3 separate regions of the Homo sapiens genome follow, and all the other regions are linked to region 3. The links are contacts of gene promoters, found by promoter capture Hi-C in blood cells and fetal thymus (Javierre and others, 2016). All regions are on one chromosome and are shown on one strand. The core of a region is centred on a gene start or on the middle of the fragment in contact, and the rest is flanking DNA. Distances in the headings are between cores, read along the strand shown.

Region 1 (3,961 bases), core at 32-2,531, 4.7 Mb after region 3:
TCTCCTCTCTCTGTCCTTCTCCCTTTCTCATCTCTTCCCAGAGCTCCACAAGCAGATGTTAAAAAGTTGGAATATTCGTGCTCTCCCAGGTGACCCATGGTGTCACCAGGTAACTGCCAGGTGAACCTCGCAGAGCAGCCTCTTCTGCAAAGACCAATAGGATACTGCTGCATTTTCCTTAAGTTACTGATTTATGGATCAATACAGAAAGGTCAGCAGGCCTTGAATAGTCTTCTTTGAAGTCACATGCTGGACTTCTTGGTACAAATTATGTATTTGTACCTCTAGCCTGATTAGTCCCTGAGTGTTTCTCGGTCAGGGGTGAGGTCAAGGAGAAGCTGCAAGGCTGCCTCTGCAGGAAACCCTTTGTTGTAAAGACTGCCTGGATTTTGCATGCACTGGAACCTGTGACAGAAGCATGTTCCCTCACCCCTGCTTCCTCTACCTGCTGGAGACACAGCCAGACCACATGCCCTGGCCTTCCTAAGGTTAACTGTCGCTATGGTTATGTCCAAAAGAACCTGGGAGGAAGGGATGTGCCTCCCTTTCAGGGGGAGAGTTTGGGAGCCTGTGAAACCCTCAAACTCTCTTCCTGCCTTTTCAAGCTGAATGCAAAAATTCAAGGGAGAACCCCCAAGCCTTCAGCAATGGCAGAGTTGCAAGTTGGAATGAGTCTGGTTCCGAAAATGTGGAATGCCACTTCTTTTGCATGGAATTTTGGGTGAGCAAGAAATAAGATGACATGGTGTTAAGTCATGGAGGTTCAGGGCTTTGTTTGTTAGAATGAACCATTCCAGGCAATACAGGGTGTATTGATCTCATCACTGCCAACAGAAGCAGGAGTGGGATATAAGGAAACACCTCTATCAGCTCCTGAGACTACAGCGAAGCTTTGGCCCATTTTACAGTATGAAGAGAGTCCAAAGGAGGGAGGAACCACCAACCACCACCAGCTAATGAATGCATGAGGTGCTCTGTCCCCTGTACCAGGAACTAGGGAAAAGGCAAAGGATGCCCTTGGAGAGCTGGAATTCGATCTCTTGGACGCATGAGGTGCTCTGTCCCCTCTACCAGGCACCAGGGAGAAGGCAAAGGATGCCCTTGGAGAGCTGGAATTCGATCTCTTAGGGTCTTCAAAGAATATTGCAGAGAACAAGTATCATCGGTTCCAAGAGAGGGTCCTCCTGGGCTGGAGCAGTCTGAGGAATGGGATTTATATGGATTCCTCCTTCCATTCAATACTTATTTATTCAGGGTGTACCGCTGGCCAGGCCCTAGAGGCTTCACAGTGAACAAGCCGTTCACGAAATTTATTCCCATGGGGACAGACAGGAAACAAGCACACCAAAGAACAAGATGCTTTCAGGAAGAACCTGTGAAGAACTCAAGTATCATAATGACTTGCCCTTTGGAGAGGTCGAGAAAGGCTTCTTGGAGCAGCGTAATCTCTCTCATGAGAAGGATCCTCAGAGTGCAGACCCGGGTCATACACCTGCCTGGTGGCTGGGACAGCAGGTGCAAAGGCCATGAGGCATCACAAAGGGTGGAGGAGCAGAAAGCCCCATGTGGCTGAACTTAGTGAGCCAGGGAGAGCATGGTGGGAGGGGAGGTACAGGGGAGGCGCAGGAGACAGAGGATGCAGGGGCCTCGTCAGGACTCAGGAAGCCAGAGTGAAGCTTCAAGCGGGGAAGTTGTAGGAGCCCATTCACATTTTCGGAAGATCTCTTGGCGTACCAATAGTACCACAGAGGCAGGGGCTAGGCACAGGTGCGTCTGGTAAAATGTAGCATGCCAGACTCCCATCCCTTCCACGGGGCCCCTGTTCTGCTTCCCACTGGGCCAAATCCAGAGGCCTCTGCGTGTGCCAGGCAGGTGGCTGCAGGAACAATCGCAGGCCCAGCCCAGGGAGGCCGGCCAGACAAGACCCGCACAGCTCAGAGACAGCACAACATGCCGGGGCATCCTGTCGGCGTTCAGAGCTATGAGTGTGTAGTGGCCCCTGGAATGCTGAACCTGTGTCTCCTTTCCACTCTGATGTTTGGTCTCTCTCTTCTTTCTCAAGAACGCCTGTATTAATTTCTCATCTAGCAAGTCCCGACCCTGCGGTTTCAGAACATGCCCTGTGCTGGGCCGGTGGGGTTTTCTAGGATGGAGAAAATGAGGTGGTGGGGTTGACTGACACTGAGGTCCAGGCCGGACTTGGAAATCCATCTGCCAGCACGTGGTTTGTGTGAGCAGCTGTGAGCTCTGTTTAGGGTGTCTCCCTCTGTGATCACTGAGAACTGGCACTCTGCAGCCCACTTGCAGGGTGTGGGCCTTCCCTTTATGGGGGCTCGGCTAACAGCACACAATAAGAAGGAAGAGGGGGTGTCCCACCAGAGATCGGCCTCCCCAGGAACAGACTCAGTCCCTGTCCATCCCTCCAAGAGGACTTGACCTCAAACAAAAGAGAAAACTGGCAATCATGTGGCCTGCAGCACGAGCCCGTAATGAGTCCATTTGACGTGCATCAAAAAGATCAATTTACTTCTCGGAGCTAAGCATCCAAACGATTTGATTTCTTTTGTCCGCTTAAAATCAATGTGTCTAATGGACTTGAAGGGCTGGGTTCTTAGATGACAGAGGCCTTTGTCAGGGAATCAATTAACCCATTGCAGAGATCTTCAGTTCAGACGTACACATCCCACGATTATTGTTGAAGAAAATAGCTCCTCTGCTACTGTACCAAAAAGGAAAATTAAAAAGTGTCTATGAAATGGATACACAGGGAGTTAATCCTGCCCTAGAGGAGCTCTTAGTGGCCAACAAGGGAAAGGGTTTATCCAGCAATTTGTTGAGTTTGCCAACATCAAAGAGAACGTAAACACGCAAGATGCTGTTGCTTGTCAATGTATACACCAGCTTCAAAGCTGAAGTCTGAGGATAGTGTCAATGGCCCAATTTAGACGTTATTAAAGGGTGCTTTGGGGAGTGAGCACATGAATTGAAATAAAAGGGTTGTGGCTACTTCTGGTTTAGAGGAACTCAATTTTTTCTCTTAATAAAAGCCCCCTAATTTCCTCAAGTAATTAACTTAATGTTCACTCCAATTTCTTTGTGAAAACTAACTTCGCTGAGCGGTGTGCCTTTCTTTGTGTGAGATTTCCATGGTAAGAGAGTAAAGGGCCACTTTTGTCCTCTTCCCTCCCCACAGATGAGCCAGTCCAAGTCGGAACGAAGAGACCCTGCCTCCACATAGCACAAACGTCTTTAAGAAGACTGCCTCTAACAATCTTTTTTTTTTTTTTTTTTTTTTTTTTTGATTCAGAGTCTCACTCTGTCACCCAGGCTGGAGTGCAGCGGTGCGATCTCAGCTCACTGCAACCTCCGCCTCCTGGGTTCAAGCAATTCTCCTGCCTCAGCTTCCCAAGTAACTGGGACTACAAGTGCCCGTGCCCACCACCACACCCAGCTAATTTTTGTATTTTTAGTAGAGACGGGGTTTCACCATGTTGGCCAGGCTGGTCTCCAACTCCTGACCTCAAGAGATCTGCCCGTCTCGGCCTCCCAAAGAGCTGGGATTACAGGCGTGAGCCACCGCGCCCAGCCTGCATCTAACAATTCTTACATGCCAGTGTTTGATTTTGTCAGAAAGCCTGTGTTGGCTTGGTGTTGAAACGGATCTGCTTGGGATTACTCCCTTGGGATGAAATATGGCCAGTTCTCTGTCAACAAATGTTTGACTCATCACAGGAGAGATTCCAGTCTCAAAAAAAGTGACTGAGGACAATAGTGAGCTCTCTGGGTCTGGAAATAAACGCAGCAGCAGGAGGGTATTCTTCTGTATTTGGCTTACAAGGTAATTTTAAATTACCCCAAATAGTAGAATATGTGACACCAGATTGATGGTATTTGACACTAGATTATTATTTTAACAGGTCAGAAAGGTTGAGGGGGGCACCTGGAGATTGGATCCTAAAAC
Region 2 (3,993 bases), core at 1,362-3,861, 4.8 Mb after region 3:
CGTGTGAGCCCAGGAGTTAGAGACCAGCCTGAGCAACATAGTGAGACCCCGTCCCTAAAAATAAGATACAAAAACTTGGCCTGGCCTGGTGGTGCACGCCTGTGGTTTCAGCTTCTCAGGAGGCTGAGATGGGAGGATCACCTGAGCCCAGAAAGTTGAGGCTGCAGTGAGCCATAATTGCACCACTACAGTCCAGCCTGAGCGAAGAGTGGGATCCTGTCTCTTAAAAGAAAAATAAGGCCAGGTGTGGTGGCTCATGCCTATAATCCCAGCACTTTGGGAGGCTGAGGTGAGATCACCTGAGGTCAGGAGTTTGAGACCAGCCTGGCCAACATGGCGATACTCCATCTCTACTAAAATACAAAAATTATCTGGGCATGGTGGTGGGCGCCTGTAATACCAGCTACTCGGGAGGCTGAGGCAGAAGAATCATTTGAACCCGGGAGGCGGAGGTTGCCATGAGCTGAGATCATGCCATTGTATTCCAGCCTGGGCAAAAGAGCGAGACTCTGTCTCAAAAAAAAAAAAAAAAAAAAAGAAAAAGAAAGAGAAAGAAATAATGAACGAACAGCTCTATATTTGGTATAGAGTTTCTGACAATAGTCTTCTGACTCCAGCTGAAAATATGTGAGTGAGCATTTGATTTGGGGTTAGTAATTTTAAGCTGAAAAGTTTAAGAAAATGTGAAGTTTAAAACTGGTTACATGATTTGAGATGTTTAACAGAATTTAAGATTTATTCAACTTTTAAGAGTTAAGTATGTTAAGTAGTAAGAAAAACGGAAGTGTTTTTGAAAGATGAGATTATTCCATTAACATATGCTGTTGAAAACATTTGATGAAAGTTAATTAACAAAGTTGCTAATGTTTTCTTCAAGCATAATGTGAAAGTTGGCTAGATTCACATGTAGACTAATGAGGTTTGTAAAATGAACATGGAAGATTAAAGGAGAAGTTGCTTTTTGTGTGTTTTTGGTTTTGTTTTTAATTTACAATTTAAAAAATTCAAAAGCTGGTCTCAAAGACACCACCTTGAGACCAGGTTCAGAGCTTTATCATAACCTTAATCCCCTACCCACCTACTTCCCGAGAAGTAAAAACCAACTCCAGAAAGATTAACACGGAAATGGTGTTTTAAGGGCAATTTGAGGGAGAAATAAGAAAGGGATTTGCATCGTATGGCAGGGTAATAGTTTAATATTTCATCTTAGGCCTCTCACTGCTTCCCCTCACTGTGTCTCTCCTTTCAACGCCCTCTCCTCACCCTGTTTACTCTTCCTTGGTCATCTGTGGACGTGTATTCTTCCATGCATTTTTGTTTTTGTTTTTGAGACAGGGTCTTGCTCTGTTGCCCAAGCTGGAGTGCAGTGGTGGGGTCATGGCTCACTGCAGCCTCGGACTCCCAGGCTCAGGCGACCCTCCTGCCTCAGCCTCCTGAGCAGCTGGGACTACATGCACGTGGCACCACACCTGTCTAATTTTTTTGTTTTTTGTTTTTTTGTAGAAGTAGGGTTTCCTGATGTTGCCCAGGTTGGTCTCAAACTCCTGGGCTCAAGCCACACAACTTTTAAAGTAAGCTTATCCATTTCCTCAATGGATTTTCACTAGGATTCTATTGAACCCATAGAATAACTTGAGGGGGCGATGGCGTGTACTTTCTGTTACTTGCAAACCACAGCTTCCAATCAAGATGCTTCTCATCTCCTTTGTAAAAGTAAAGATTTCTGGCTGCACTTTTAGCCCTTCAGGTGCAATGCATCTTTGGAGGTTAAGCATTTAGTTCAGTCCCCCGGGTATAATTGGTGCTGGGTAAATATTTGTCATATAAGTTAATTTCATATCTAAACTCATCCTACAAGAAGTTGAGGTTTCAGAGCAACTCGTCTCATCCTCGTATAACTTACCTGGAGCAGCTTAGCCTCTAGGTGGCACTGCAGAGCCGGAGACCTGAGTATCCAGCCTTCATTAAATAAACCATCTCAAAGAAAAATGAATAGGGAGTAATTTGGGGAGATTAGATGGCTTGGGCTGGGACTCCTACCATTGCTCTCGCAATGCTCCATCTCTGGAGCTGGGGGGAACGTCTCAGTTCAGAAATTCCAGAACCATTCATCAACCCTTGGCGTTGACATGAAATGAAATAAAGTCGTTAGCTTGTAAAATACAGGATTTCGTTCTCCCTATATCTGTCAATCTGTTTTATGGTTGGTTCAGCCCTGCCATAAAATGTGAAGGAATTAGAATAAATGCTGGATTTACCGCTCCTTGAATACGCTTTCTGAAATGATACAGCCACGCGATACGGACACTCGGAGCCAGACAAGAACTTCTCTGTGCAGATTGTATACTCTAGTCCCTCCGGAGTTCATGAGCTTGGCCAAGGGGAGCTGCCTGTAGCATGTCTGCAGGGAAAATTAACATAAAACCGAATAAGTGACATCTTCAAGTGACTTCATCAATGGGAGCTAAGTCATGCCAAAGTTGTCTACTTGGGGCAGCGTAAACAAAGAAAGAAGTGACATACACCAACATCGATGGAGCCCCAAACATTATTCTGAGCAAAAGATACCAGACCAAGAAGTGGGTGTGTATTCTATGATGTCATGTATTTAAAATTCTGGCAAAGGCAAATCTAATCTATAATGGCAGAAAAGAGATAGGGAGTTATCTACAGTTGGGAACGGGGGTGATGGAGGGGCACAGAGAACTTTAAGGGTGATGCTAATGTTCTTCTATGTCTTTATTAGGATGGTTACCTGAGTTGTATATGTTAATCAAAACTCATGAAATCATTGCAATTAATGAGTTCAGGTGAGACTCACCTGAAGTAGGTGAGATTTATTGTATATAAGCTATACATCAATAAAGTTCATTTAAAAAAATCAGGATGTCTGACTTGGCACAGAAACTCCAGAGCCATGTTGCCGTGTGTGGACAGTAACTAATAGTGAATATACTCAGAAACTTTTTAAAAAGTTGTTCACTTCCTTATTTGATAAAGTATTAATTATCAGCAAATGTCAGCAATGCAGGCCAAGGGGCTTTGGGCAACAGCCAGCAGTGTTCATTAGCCTTAACCATCTCTGAAATATTTTCAATAAATGCATAGTTTATTCTTCCTCTACATCCCTAGGCTGTGTTTCTATGAAAGGCTCCTTGTCCTCTTGGAGATGGCTTCATTAGTCTTGGTAACAACTAACTGGTCATCTGGAAGTCAGCATGAGCTGGACAGGAAGTCAAGGACGGTCACCATTCATTTATTCATTTATCTGTTTGTTAATTCACTATTTCCTGAGTACCTATGAGGCCAGCTCTGTGTTCAGCAATTTTATGACAGAAAATGAGTTCGGATCTATCCTAAGAAGTTCACATGGATTAATTTAGTATTTATTAAATACTAGCTGTCTAATTGTTGTATGTAGAAAAAAGTTTGTGCTTCAATGGAAAACTATTATTTGTCACAGAGGACACCCATCTGATTATAGTCTTTCATTGTCTTTGAGCTATATTACAAATCTTTAAGTTGAAGATAACCGGCAGAAATGCAAAAATCATTCATATAGAAATGCAAATCCTATAAAGGCTAGAGATCCTATAAGAGGAGGACGGTCGGTAGACGTCCAGTTGACCTCCTTCCTCTGAAAGAATCAAGCTTGCCTTCATTTGAGCAGACATTTCAGCATTCCTGATCTATAAATGTGTCTGTTCTTAGGATTCTCTTTAGAACTGGTGGTAACATCTGTCGGGTTTCATCATTTACTAGTGAGCAGAATAGAATGTAATCATTAACATGCATTCATTTGTAAATCTGCATGACAGTCACGATTTTACCTTTTTTGAGAATTATCTTTTAACACACGATATACAGGGAACACTAACAATTAGCGCAGTTGGGGAGGTTACTGACATCCCAGATCACTGGGAATGGGGCGCTGGCTCCATTTGGTACCATCTCAAATTCTGGAACAAGGATTCTCTCCCCCACCATCCCCAC
Region 3 (3,976 bases), core at 182-2,681:
GTTGACACTGACTCCTTTAAATGAGTTCCGACTTCCTAGGTCAGGGGCTTTGTATGTGTTATTGGGGACACCAGGTGATGTGCAATGCCTTCCATCTCTCAGATGAGAAAACTGAGGCTCAGGGAGGAATAAGGGACTCGCCCCAGCTTGCACAGCTAAGGAGCGGCAGAGCTGGGATTCTCAGCCAAGACTCCATGACTCCAGAGCCTTCCCCAAATCTGTCTTTTCATCACCCCACGCTGCCTTATTGACCATTTTCAAAGAGTTTGACCCACTTTTTCATGGAAAACTGAGATGGCAGAGCAAGTGGCTGGTGTGGTGGGGGCTGGGGCGGAGCCAGGACTCCAAGCCACCCTCCCAGGTGGGCAACCCCCCATATCCCCTGTCCTCCCAGCGTGGTGGGGAAGCTTGAAGGCATCTGAGCGCTGCTGGAGGCTCCCCCACATGCTCCCAGCATGACTCATTCATTCGGCTTAGCCCCCCGTGGCTTTGCCCTGGTTGGGGGTGGGGCGCCCAGGAGGATCAGTGGTTTCTGGGATAATAGGTACTGGGGCTCCGTGTGACCTGTGACCTCCCTCCGCACTCTGGCTGCGTCCCTGCCCCTGGATGGAAGAATTCGACCACCTAGTACCCGGCCCTGCGCAACACCTCCGCTCCGTCACTGCCTGACCCTGCGCTGGGAACTCATTCCCGGGACCGCCAGGGAATCTGCCCTTCCCAGGAGAACTCCTGGCTGCCTCCGCGTGCTCCTAGGGCCTGCGCGAAATGGGAAGGCGCATCCTCTAGCCTGGGTAAATAAGGGACCCTGCCTCACCCGGGTGGCCATCCCCAGGCCGCCTTCGCTGTGTTTCAGGTCACCGCACCCAGCCTGCGCACCCCTAGCCCCCATCCCGGTGCCGTGCAGAGGCTCTGCACACAGCCTCGGCCTCCCGGAGGCCCTCCCCTCTCTCCTCTCCCCTCTCCCACAGGCACTCCCTAGCTGTGCCACATTTAACCCGGGACCTCCTGTCCGCGCTCAGTCTTGCAGTCTCTGGCCCCGGCAGACACCACCTCTCCAGAGGTCGCTGCCCCATCCCGGTGACCCTCCGCTGGCCTCCTCACCCCTCGACCTTGGCAACTCCTACCGCTGCGCCCCAAGACGCCGGATCTAGCTGGGCATCCCCTCTCTGCATTGCGCACCCCTCCCGCAGCCCCTGTACCCGCGAGCGCCCGCGACCCCCGGCGGGCTCCCGGAGCCTCCCGGCCGGGCGCCCTCCCCCGAACCGCCGAGCAGTGGCGCGTCCCGCCGCCTACTGGCCGGGCTGCCGCCTGTGCCCCGGCTCCCGGGCGGCCCCTCCCCCGGCCGCGGCCCCGCCCTCCGCTCCTCTCCTCCTCCTCCTCCTCCTACTCCTCCTCCTCCTCCTCCTCCCCCCGGCGCTCGCTCGCTCGCTCACTCTCTCGCTGGCTCGAGGGGCGGCCGGCAGATGGCGATGGCAGAGGCGGCGGCGGCGGCGGCGGCGCGACCGGGATGGGACGGGCGCTGGGGCGCAGGAGCCGCGGCGGCGGCGGCGGCGGGGGCCGCGCAACTCGGGCCAACTGCGGGGCAGCCGGCCAGGGCGCGGGGCGCTGAGCCTCGGCCGCCCCAGCTCCCCAGCCACGCACGGCCGAGCCCAGGAGAGCGCGCAGAGGCGCAGCCGAGGAAGCGCCGCCAGCGCCGGCGCATGCGTCTGGGGAGGAGCGGCGCGCTGGGAGCGAGCCATGCCCGGCGCCCGGGCGTAGCCGCCGGGGGCTGCTCCGGGAGCCGCGGGCCGGGCCGGGCGCGCGAGAGGAGCAGCCCCGCGCCGCACCCACCGCGCGCCGAGGACCATGCCGCCCCCGGGCCGGGCGCCGCCGCTCGGGCTCCTGCTGGCGCTGACTGCGCTCCAGTGCCCAGGTAACGCGTCCCCGGACCCCATCCCCGACCCCGGCCGAGGCGCACAAAGTTGGGTGAACGGGCGGCTACCTCCTTCTCAAGTCCCTGGCAGCGCGCATCTCCCGGACTTGGACAGACCTGGGGAGACCCTGGGAACCCAGGAGCCCCCGGCGCGTTCCCCTTTGCCTAGCGCCTGGGGAGAGCCCGCCTGCCTTCTCCCCCAAACCCTTAGCTTCCTTGCGGATCCTTTCGGGACGCACGGGGGCCACAGACCGGGGCACTCAGCCTCTCGAGGCGGGTGGGGACGCGACTGCAGGAATCGAGCCCCCTCCCCGCCCTGCCTTGGGCCAAATCCCCCCCAGGTCCCAGTTCCTCCAGGGGTTTTGCTGGGCGGGGGCGTCGACGCAGCCCTTCTCCAGTGTCTTGCTGCCCGCGGTCGCACAGTGGTGCGTTCCCGGGACACCTGCGGGCCCCGGAGATGTCTCGGCCGGCGCTGTCTGGCTTGTCCGCAGCCCCTCCCCACGCCCCGCGGCCCTCCCCTGCTTTCACACTGCCCTCCCCAAGCTACCCACCCTCGCCAAATGGCCTCCTCTTGGCCAAAGAGCAGCCCGCTGCGCGCCTCCTGCAAACGCGGTCTACTCCAGCGCCCTGACCCCAAGGCGGGCGGGAGAGGGTAGCCGCGGCCAAGCAGTCCAGGACGCGCCGGGGAGCCTGGAACGCGGTGCTGTCCAGAGCCATTGCCTGGGCACCGGGGAGCTGGACTCCCTGCTGAACCAGCTCAGCTGTCGCCCAATCCTAGTGAGTGGGAAAAGCAAAATAGTCAGGTATTGTCTGTCTTCGCTGGAGTTTGGAAAGCTTTCTACCCACCTTGGTGTGGCTACATGTTGGTTCTATAGAAAGCGTATCCTAAAATGACAATTCCTCCCCTCCCCCCACCCCATGCAAGCAGTGGAGAAAATCCTAAAGGCTCAGATGAACCCCGGGAACAGTCACGAGCAGCCTTCATGTGCTTTTGAAATCTCAGTTCTCCAAACCTTTTAAAATCAAGACCCATGATTTGGGAACAGGTAGCTTTTGCTTTAGAAAATCTCTCCCCATTTCCTTAACAAACAAATCGCACAGACAGGCAGAATGCAGTAGAAAAATACAACTATAACTTTTCGGCTTTCACTGTCTTGGTAAGGTTGCAGTTAGGAGCAAACCTGGCATGTCAACTTGATGTTCGATGTATTTTATTTGCATGGAAAAAGTCAGTGTCGGCTTCCTTTGAGATGCCCTTAAGTGACCCAAAATATTTACCAACACCTTCGACTTGAAGAAAACCTTCTATTGGAGATCTCCGTCAGCGTTCGGCTTTGGTTCAGCCTAGAGAATGGCATTGGGCTTAACGTGGATGAATCTTGCCTGCTTGGCTAAGGAGCAGCTATGATAGCTGTTTTGCTTTCGGCATTCCTCTGCGGTCCACGAGAGGGGCTGCTGCTGGGGCCGAGGCTGTTTTCTCTTAGCTGAAGCCCTGGGACCTGTTTGCAAAAGTGCAGTCCCTCGGACTTGAAAATTGCAGTTTTGTCTCTATTTTGTTTCTCCACGGGGGTCAGCATTTGCCTGGATGTGCTTATAAGTGAATATCGGAAGTCTCTCAGAGAAGCTGCCTGCATAATGCTTTGTAAGAGAATAGGATGGTCCCCCTACCACCCCCCCACCCCCGTCCCCCGCCCTCTCCCCCAGCAACAGAAGAGCCTGTGCCTGGCTCTGGAAGGCCCCATGTTGGGAGGGAAGGTGAGCTCCCACTGAAACCTGCTGCTGGCCGGCTCTTTGCCTGCTCCCCTGCTGTTCTTTGGGAGAGTCTCAGCAGGGCAGCTCGTTCCGACAAATGCCGTCCGGGCAGAGCCCCCAGTGCCATCGCCCCGTCCCTGGAAGCACATGCAAGTCTTTAACTGGTCCCTACCAGGGACATAAAGAGACGACAGTTTGATAACTCTATATTTAGCACTAGTTAGGAGGGATGGCAAAAAAAAAAAAAAAAAAAAAGAAAAAAAGAAATTCCTGAAAGATACTTAGCTGCCTACACTTGGTTTTGAGAGGTTC

What was found. The method cuts DNA at HindIII sites, captures the fragments that hold promoters and counts their contacts. A CHiCAGO score of 5 or more calls a contact.
Region 1: a fragment that was not itself captured here is called in contact with the fragment with the promoter of TMEM132B in region 3 in 2 of 17 cell types (total B cells and naive B cells); the score reaches 5.4 in total B cells.
Region 2: a fragment that was not itself captured here is called in contact with the fragment with the promoter of TMEM132B in region 3 in 2 of 17 cell types (naive CD4 T cells and total CD4 T cells); the score reaches 5.2 in naive CD4 T cells.

The regions. Positions count from the first base shown.
Region 1 is chr12:129,907,568-129,911,528 of GRCh38, forward strand. No RefSeq gene overlaps it. Among named protein-coding and RNA genes, the nearest start is that of TMEM132D, 5.5 kb to the left of the region's middle. The HindIII fragment of the contact is 786 bases long and covers 889-1,674 here.
Region 2 is chr12:130,024,854-130,028,846 of GRCh38, forward strand. No RefSeq gene overlaps it. Among named protein-coding and RNA genes, the nearest start is that of LINC02418, 15 kb to the right of the region's middle. The HindIII fragment of the contact is 2,075 bases long and covers 1,575-3,649 here.
Region 3 is chr12:125,184,955-125,188,930 of GRCh38, forward strand. It overlaps TMEM132B (transmembrane protein 132B), which reads left to right and starts at 1,432. Exons shown (of 9, transcript NM_001366854.1): 1 at 1,432-1,912. The coding sequence starts at 1,846. RefSeq lists an enhancer at 633-1,166 and a silencer at 1,215-1,424. The HindIII fragment of the contact is 2,339 bases long and covers 406-2,744 here.